Regions from separate parts of the Homo sapiens genome. Here region 1 is linked to region 2. Evidence: promoter capture Hi-C in 16 types of primary human blood cells and fetal thymus (Javierre and others, 2016). All regions are on one chromosome and are shown on one strand. Each heading gives the region's core, a stretch centred on a gene start or on the middle of the fragment in contact. The rest is flanking DNA. Distances are from core to core; before and after follow the strand shown. Region 1 overlaps TYK2 (tyrosine kinase 2). Region 2 holds the start of ZGLP1 (zinc finger GATA like protein 1).

Region 1 (3,619 bases), core at 812-3,311, 60 kb after region 2:
GAGGCTGAGGCAGGTGAATCACTTGAGGTCAGGAGTTTGAGACCAGCCTGGCCAACATGGTGAAACCCCGTCTTTACTAAAAATAGAAAAATTAGCCTGGGGTGGTGGCGGGCTTCTGTAATCTCAGTTACTTGGGAGGCTGAGGTGGAAGAATCGCTTCAACCTGGGAGGTGGAAGTTGCAGTGAGCTGAGATCACGCCACTGCACTCCAGCCTGGGCCACAGAGCAAGACTCCATTTCAAAAAAAAAAGATCGGCTGGGAGCGGTGGCTCACGCCTGTAATCCCAGCACTTTGGGAGGCCGAGGCGGGCAGATCACGAGGTCAGGAGATGGAGACCATCCTAGCTAACACTGTGAAACCCCGTCTCCACTAAAAATACAAAAAATTAGCTGGGCATGGTGGCGGGCGCCTGTAGTCCCAGCTACTTGGGAGGCTGAGGCAGGAAAATGACGGGAACCTGGGAGGCGGAGCTTGCAGTGAGCCGAGATCACATCACTGCACTTCAGCCTGGGCGACAGAGCAAGACTCCGTCTCAAAAAAAAAAAAAAGATCCCCAGATAGCATGAGTTGAAACCTATTAGCTATATTGAATCAGGGAGGGAAATGGGGGCTCCTCAACTGCCCCTAAGTCTCCCACAAATAGTCTTGCCACCCCAGCCCTGCTCATACCTGCTCAAAGAGGTACTCAAATGAGGCTGGGTCCAGGAGTTGCATCCCCTGTGCTGTCTGATCTGAGGATGCCTCGGTTCCTGGGGGCCCACAACGGTACACAGCCGGTTCCCGAGGATTCATGCCATGCCAGTTCCGGAAATAAAACCTGCAGGAAGGAGGGACGCAGCTGGGGCTTAGCACAGAGTCAGACCAGCTTCAGCACAGGAGGGGACGAGCTTTGCAAAGGTCTCCACCCACCTTATGCGGAAATATAGCATCAGGCTTGCATCTCTGGGGATCTCTAGGATGTGGTTTGGGGGCAACCAGACTTGGGCCTGAGCATCGAAGAGGGCAAAGAGATTGAAGCAAGGAGGAGTGATACCTGGATCAGGTGAGAAACGAGGTCAGGAGTCACGTCATTTGCTACCGTCAGCCCCAAAGACCCCCCAGACCCAATGTCTGCCTTCACACTCCCTCTGAGGCCCCCTCCCCCACCTGCAGCTTCAGTCTCACGTTGCCCCTGGGCAGAGGACAGTGCGTATGTTGCCCATGCTGTGGCCTCACAGGAGGACTACATTTCCCAGCCTCCCTTGCAGCTAGGATGGAGCCAATTGCACTGCTGGTTTCTGGCCAAAGGGCTGGGTACATTTCCAAGCCTGGAAATAAATTCTCTTGCCACCTTCACCACCCGAGGTATGATGAAGGCTTCTTGTGACAGATGGTGAAGCTGTAAGACAGAGGTGAACCATCCAACCTGTACTTGATTTTAAGTAAAACTTTTTTTTTTTTTTTGAGATGGAGTCTTGCTGTTGCCCAGGCTGGAGAGCAGTGACACGATCTTGGCTCGCTGCAACTTCCGCCTCCTGGGTTCAAGTGATTCTCCTGTCTCAGCCTCCTGAGTTGCTGGGATTACAGGTGTGCGCCACCAACCCCGGCTAGTTTTTGTATTTTTAGAAGAGACGAGGTTTCGCCATGTTGGCCAGGCTGGTCTCAAACTCCTGACCTCAGGTGATCTGCCCACCTTGGCCCCCCAAAGTGCTGAGATTACAGGCATGAGCCACTGTGCTCGGCCGATTTTAGGTAAACCTTGATTAAGATTTGGGGGGATTGCTTATTCCTGCAGCAAAACTAATCCTAGCCTGACCCACATAACTCTACAAACTGCTGCAATTGTCTGGCGTCTCCCTGAACTCCAGCCCCAAAGAAACATCCAGTCACCTCCTGGCTGTCTCCCCCTGGACATCACAGGCCCCCCCTTAGATATGGCTTGTTCCAAACAACATATCTTATCTGTGGTTGGCAAACTCCAACCTTCCCTTCCTCTGCCCTTTTTTTTTTAAGGGTCAGGGTCTTTCTTTGCCACCCAGGTTGCAGTGCAGTGGTGCAATCCTAGCTCACTGCAGCCTCAACCTCCAGGGCTCAAGCGATCCTCCCACCTCAATCTCTGGAGTTGATGGGATTATGGCTATGAGCCAGGGTGTGTGGCTTCTGCCCAGTTCTTCAAACCAGGAACTTGGTCCTTATCTTCAACCTCTCCCACCTGCTCCAAAACAGATCGGTCACCAAGACCTGCTCTTCCTGCACCCTCCATGTCCTGGGGCTCCATCCACCACCTTCAAATGCAAACCTCAACCCCAATCCAGTCTCCAGACTTGCTGTAATTTCCCACACCAGCTACCCAGGGTATCTTTCTTCTACTGATGTCATTTAAAAATTGTACCTGTCGGCCGGGCGCAGTGGCTCACGCCTATAATCCCAGCACTTTGGGAGGCTGAGGTGGGCAGACCACGAGGTCAGGAGATCAAGACCATCTTGGCTAACATGGTGAAACCCCGTCTCTACTAAAAAATACAAAAAATTAGCCAGGCATGGTGGCGGATGCCTGTAGTCCCAGCTACTTGGGAGGCTGAGGCAAGAGAATGGTGTGAATTCAGGAGGTGGAACTTGCAGTGAGCCGAGATTGCGCCACTGCACTCCAGCCTGGGCGACAGAGCGAGACTCTGTCTCAAACAACACAACAAAACAAAACAAAGAATCAGCCATGGCCAGGCTCGAGGGTGCACACTTGTAATCCCAACACTTTGGGAGTCTGAGGCAGGTGGATCACTTGAGGTCAGGAGTTCGAGACCAGCGTGGCCAGCATGGTGAAATCCCATCTCTATTAAAAAAAAAAATAGCTGGACCTGGTGGCATGTGCCTGTAATTCCAGCTACTTGGGAGGCTGAGGCAGGAGGACTGCTTGAACCCGGGAGGCGGAGGTTGCAGTGAGCCAAGATCGTGCCACTGAGCTCCAGCCTGGGCGGCAGAGTGAGATCTGAAAAAAAAAAATTGGCTGGCCATGGTGGGGTGCACCTTTAGTCCCAGCTACTCCGGAGGTTGACGCAGGACAATCGCTTGAACCCGGGAGGTGGAGGGTGCAGTGAGCCGAGATTGTGCCACTGCACTCCAGCCTGGCGACACAGCAAGACTGTCTCAAAAAAAAAAAAAAAAATGGTATCTGGCTGGGTGCAGTGGCCCATGCCTATAGTCCCAGCACTTTCGGAAGCTGAGGCAGGTGAAGCACTTGAGGGCAGGAGTTTGAGACCAGCCTGGCCACCAGAGCAAAACCTCGTCTCTACTAAAAATACAAAAATTAGCTGGGTGTGGGGGTGAGCACCTGTAATCGCAGCTACTCAGCAGGCTGAGGCAAGAGAATTGCTTGAACCTGGAGGCAGAGGTTGCAGTGAGCCGAGATCACGCCACTGCGCTCCAGCCTGGGTGAAAGAGTGAGGCTCTGTCTAAAAAAATAATAATAAAATGAAATAAATAATTTTATCTAAAGCTGGGTATGGTGGCTCACATCTGTAATCCCAGCACTTTGGGAGGCTAAGGCGGGAGAATCACTTGAACCTAGGAGTTCAAGACCAGCCTAAGCAACATAGTGAGACCCCTCATCTCTAAAAAAACTAAAAATAAAATAAATTAGCC
Region 2 (3,691 bases), core at 111-2,610:
GGGGTGTCCTGGGCAGGGGACTGACCCAGCCTCTCCACTGTCTCTTGGAGGAAGCACAGGGCGGTGACCGACTCCTGGCATGCAGGCCAGAGGGACCTGGGGAGAAGGGCAGTGGGGTCACGTTTTCTTGGGTGACTCCTGGGTTTAGCCGGCCAGGGGGTTCCAACTTGGGCCGGCTCTTTGTGTACCCTTGGACAGGCTACACACCCCACCTGAGGTTCAGTCATTTCTAACTCTGGGTGGAAGGTTTAAGAGTTGCAGTAATTGCAACTCACCTCGCCCACTGTGGGCCTCCCAGGCACGCCCAGCCCTCCACATCAATCAACCCCTTACGGCACCCGTAGATCACCCAGGCAGGGACCGCCCTAGGTGACCGAGGCAGGATATCAAGCCTCTGGCTGCAGGATCGAGAAAAAGGTTACTTTTTTTCTTTGTGTTTCTTTTAGAGACCGAGCCTCACTCTGTACCCCCGCCTGGAGTGCAGGGGCGTGATCAGGACTCAGTGCAGCCTAGAACTCCTGGGCTCGACCGATCCTTCCGCCTCAGCCTCCCGAGTAGCTGGGACTTACAGGCACGCGCCACCACGCCGCTGGCTTGCCATAATATGATTACGATTTTTATCATTTTCATTATTATTGAGTTGCCCTCCATAACCCCTGGATGATCCCTGGGGAGTGCCTACATCAGCCCCAGAGACATGGAATTGCATGGCCTCTGATCCCTAGATGACCCCAAGTGTCTCTGGGCACCAGAACCTCTTTGTAAGTTTCAGTAACTATTATAAAATTGCCACTTCTCGATAACCCCAGCAAAGAGAGGTCATGACCCCTTGATCACTGAGCCAGGTGGTGAAGTGCTAGCGGGGTCCGGGGAATGGGGTTTGGCCTTACGCACCTCTCACTGATTCTGCAGCATCCTGGGGTCCTCGGCTTCTCCTGGGAGGGGGATCCTCCCAGCCGCTCCAGGTTCAGACAGGGCGGCGCCAGAAGCTTTGCTGGCATTGAGGAGTCCGGGATTGGCTCGGCCTCCATTGCGCCCCAGCCCAGCCCCCTCCCTAATTTCACCCGGCCCTGTCCCGCTGGGCCCACCCGATGAAACCCACCTGGGAGGGGCGGGACCTGTGTGGTGGGAGCGCTCTTGGTAGAGGATGCGATGAGCCCCAGCTGAGAGCGACCAGCCTCGGCGGCACCTTTCCTCTTTCTGGCTTTTTTCAGGTCATCCGCGCACCCCTGCGTGGCAAGGGCGGCCTGGACCCCACCAAATCCCTCCGCAGCTGCCGGGGCGGGGCCTTCCACGCTAGCCCTCCCCCTCGGAAATGGGGGCTCCCAGGCCTCTGCCTTGGATCCCCAGCGGCATCTTAGATCCCAGAGGGAAAAGAGAACCGGGGGCCCAGCACAGCAGATGCAGGTGTGGTTTGTTTTTGTTTTTGTTTTTTTTTTTTTTGAGACAGGGCCTCACTCTGTCACCCAGGCTGGAGTGGAATGGCCTGATCACCGCTCCACTGCAGCCTAAATCCCCTGGGCTCAAGTGATCCTCCCACCTCAGTCTCCCGAGTAGCTGGGACTACAGGCACTTACCACCACTCCACGCTAATTTTTACTGTTTTTATAGAGACGAGGTCTCGCCATGTTGCCCAGGATGGTCTTAAGCTCCTGGCCTCAAGTGATCCTCCCATCTTGGCTTCCCAAAGTGCTAGGATTACAGGTGTGAGCCACCTGTAGACCCCAGATCTGTCCCCCAAGGACACTCAACATGCTGGGGCCTGTGTTATCGATTTATTGCAGCTCCAATATGAGTCCACTCCTACTCAAACCCTGATTCTCAGGGGCCTGGGGAAGGCCACCCCACTAGGGGCCCTGTCCCCACCAGAGCCTGGACATGGGACTCTCTCCCAAGCAGGGGTGTTGTCCTTCACAGGGGCTTCCACGTCTCTCCCGGGCCTGTCCGCACTCTGGGCAGGGCTGGCACCTGGCTATTCCCTCAATCTGGGCCCTGGGGCCATGGCAATGTGGAATGGTCCAGGTGTTCATGTCAGTGGGGCTTGGGGACATGGCCATCCACGTAGAAGTTCCTGGTGATCTTGGGCAGGGTGAATTCCGCTCCTTCCAGCTCCGGTGTCAGCACAATCTGGCAGCCCAGCCGCGAGTTCTCCTGGAGGAGGGGGGCCATGTCTAGCATGTCGTCTTCCCTAGGGTGGTGACACGGGCAGTGTTAGCCGAGGGCAAGCTAGCTGGGTGGGTGGGGGGCCAGAGGTGGGGGAGGGAGGAAGCTGACTGAGCGCAGGGGGTAGTGGTGGGGGAGGCAGCTCCCATTCCAGGAACTGGAAGTGGGGAGGATGGTGGGGGCTGCTGAATGCTCCAGGGTGAAGCTGCCAGCTAGACAGGGCTGACCCACTCACCTCTCCTCGGGAGGAGGCAGGAGATCCAGGTGGTCTTCACTCACATACACATGGCAGGTGGAGCAGGCCAGGGAGGCTTCACAGGCCCCTAGGGGTGGGAAGTGAAGGGGGCGCAGGTGAGTGGCAGAGTCAGGAAGGGGCTGCTATGCGAATGGCGTAGAGGAGTAGACCTCTCTTCCACCACGTGCCTCACGTCTCCCTCCTGGGCCTGCAGCTCCACTGTGTGTACCAGGCACTGTGTCATGTCCTCAATGTCCTCAGCTAGCTGTTCCCCAGTGTGTAGGGTTTACAAACGGACATCTGGGAGGCCCCATTTCCCAGGGACTCCCTAGCAGGCTGAGATGCAGAACCATTAAGGAGCAGGGACTTGGCTGCCAGGTAGCTGAGAGGGGAAAGGCCAGGCAGGCTCCCCGCAGTCTGTGAGCCCTTGCTGTGACCCTATCACTGTGCTGGGCTAATGTGTCCCCACCTCTCCACTGCTCTTGGAGGATGGACCGGCTGACTCAGCAGTCAGTGTGGTGGGGGAAGGAATCAGGCATTAGGATTTTGTTTTTTTTTTTTTTGAGATGGAGTCTTGTTCTGTTGCCCAGGCTGGAGTGCAGTGGCACGATCTCGGCTCACTGCAAGCTCTGCCTCCCGGGTTCACGCCATTCTCCTGCCTCAGCCTCCCAAGTAGCTGGGACTACAGGTGCCTGCCACCACGCCTGGCTAATTTTTTTATATTTTTTTAGTAGAGCTGGGGTTTCACCATGTTAGCCAGGATGGTCTTGATCTCCTGACCTCATGATCTGCCCGCCTCAGCTTCCCAAAGTGCTGGGATTACAGGCGTAAGCCACTGCACCCGGCCAGGATTTTTTTTTTTTTTTTTTGAGACAGGGTCTCACTCTGTTGCCCAGCCTGGAGTGCCATGGCTCAGTCATAGCTTACTGCCTCAACCTCCCGGCTCAAGCGATCCTCCCACCCCAGCCTCCCGAGTAGCTGGGACTACATGTGCGCACCACCACACCTGGCTAATTTTTTTTTTTTTTTTTTTTTGAGGTGGAGTTTCGCTCTCTTTGCCCAGGCTGGAGTGCAATGGTATGATCTCGGCTCAATGCAACCTCTGCCTCCCAGGTTCAAGTGATTCTCCTGCCTCAGCCTCCCAAGTAGCTGGGATTACAGGTGCCCACCATCACGCCCAGCTAATTTTGTATTTTTAGTAGAGATGGGGTTTTGCCATGCTGGCCAGGCTGGTCTTGAACTCCTGACCTCAGGTGATCCACCTATCTCGGCCTCCCTAAGTGCTGGGATTAC

Evidence for each region. The method cuts DNA at HindIII sites, captures the fragments that hold promoters and counts their contacts. A CHiCAGO score of 5 or more calls a contact.
Region 1: a contact is called between a fragment that was not itself captured here and the fragment with the promoter of ZGLP1 in region 2, in 1 of 17 cell types (monocytes). The highest score is 5.3, in monocytes.

Annotation. Positions count from the first base shown.
Region 1 is chr19:10,367,385-10,371,003 of GRCh38, forward strand. It overlaps TYK2 (tyrosine kinase 2), which reads right to left. Exons shown (of 25, transcript NM_003331.5): 4 at 911-1,034; 5 at 671-818. Among named protein-coding and RNA genes, the nearest start is that of TYK2, 11 kb to the right of the region's middle. The HindIII fragment of the contact is 4,563 bases long and covers 1-3,619 here.
Region 2 is chr19:10,308,455-10,312,145 of GRCh38, forward strand. It overlaps ZGLP1 (zinc finger GATA like protein 1), which reads right to left and starts at 1,361. Exons shown (of 5, transcript NM_001409033.1): 1 at 895-1,361; 2 at 1-96. The coding sequence starts at 1,031. It overlaps FDX2 (ferredoxin 2), which reads right to left. Exons shown (of 5, transcript NM_001397406.1): 4 at 2,399-2,486; 5 at 1,591-2,188. The coding sequence ends at 2,032. FDX2-ZGLP1 (FDX2-ZGLP1 readthrough) reads right to left here. Exons shown (of 9, transcript NR_176052.1): 4 at 2,399-2,486; 5 at 895-2,188; 6 at 1-96. The HindIII fragment of the contact is 20,285 bases long and covers 988-3,691 here.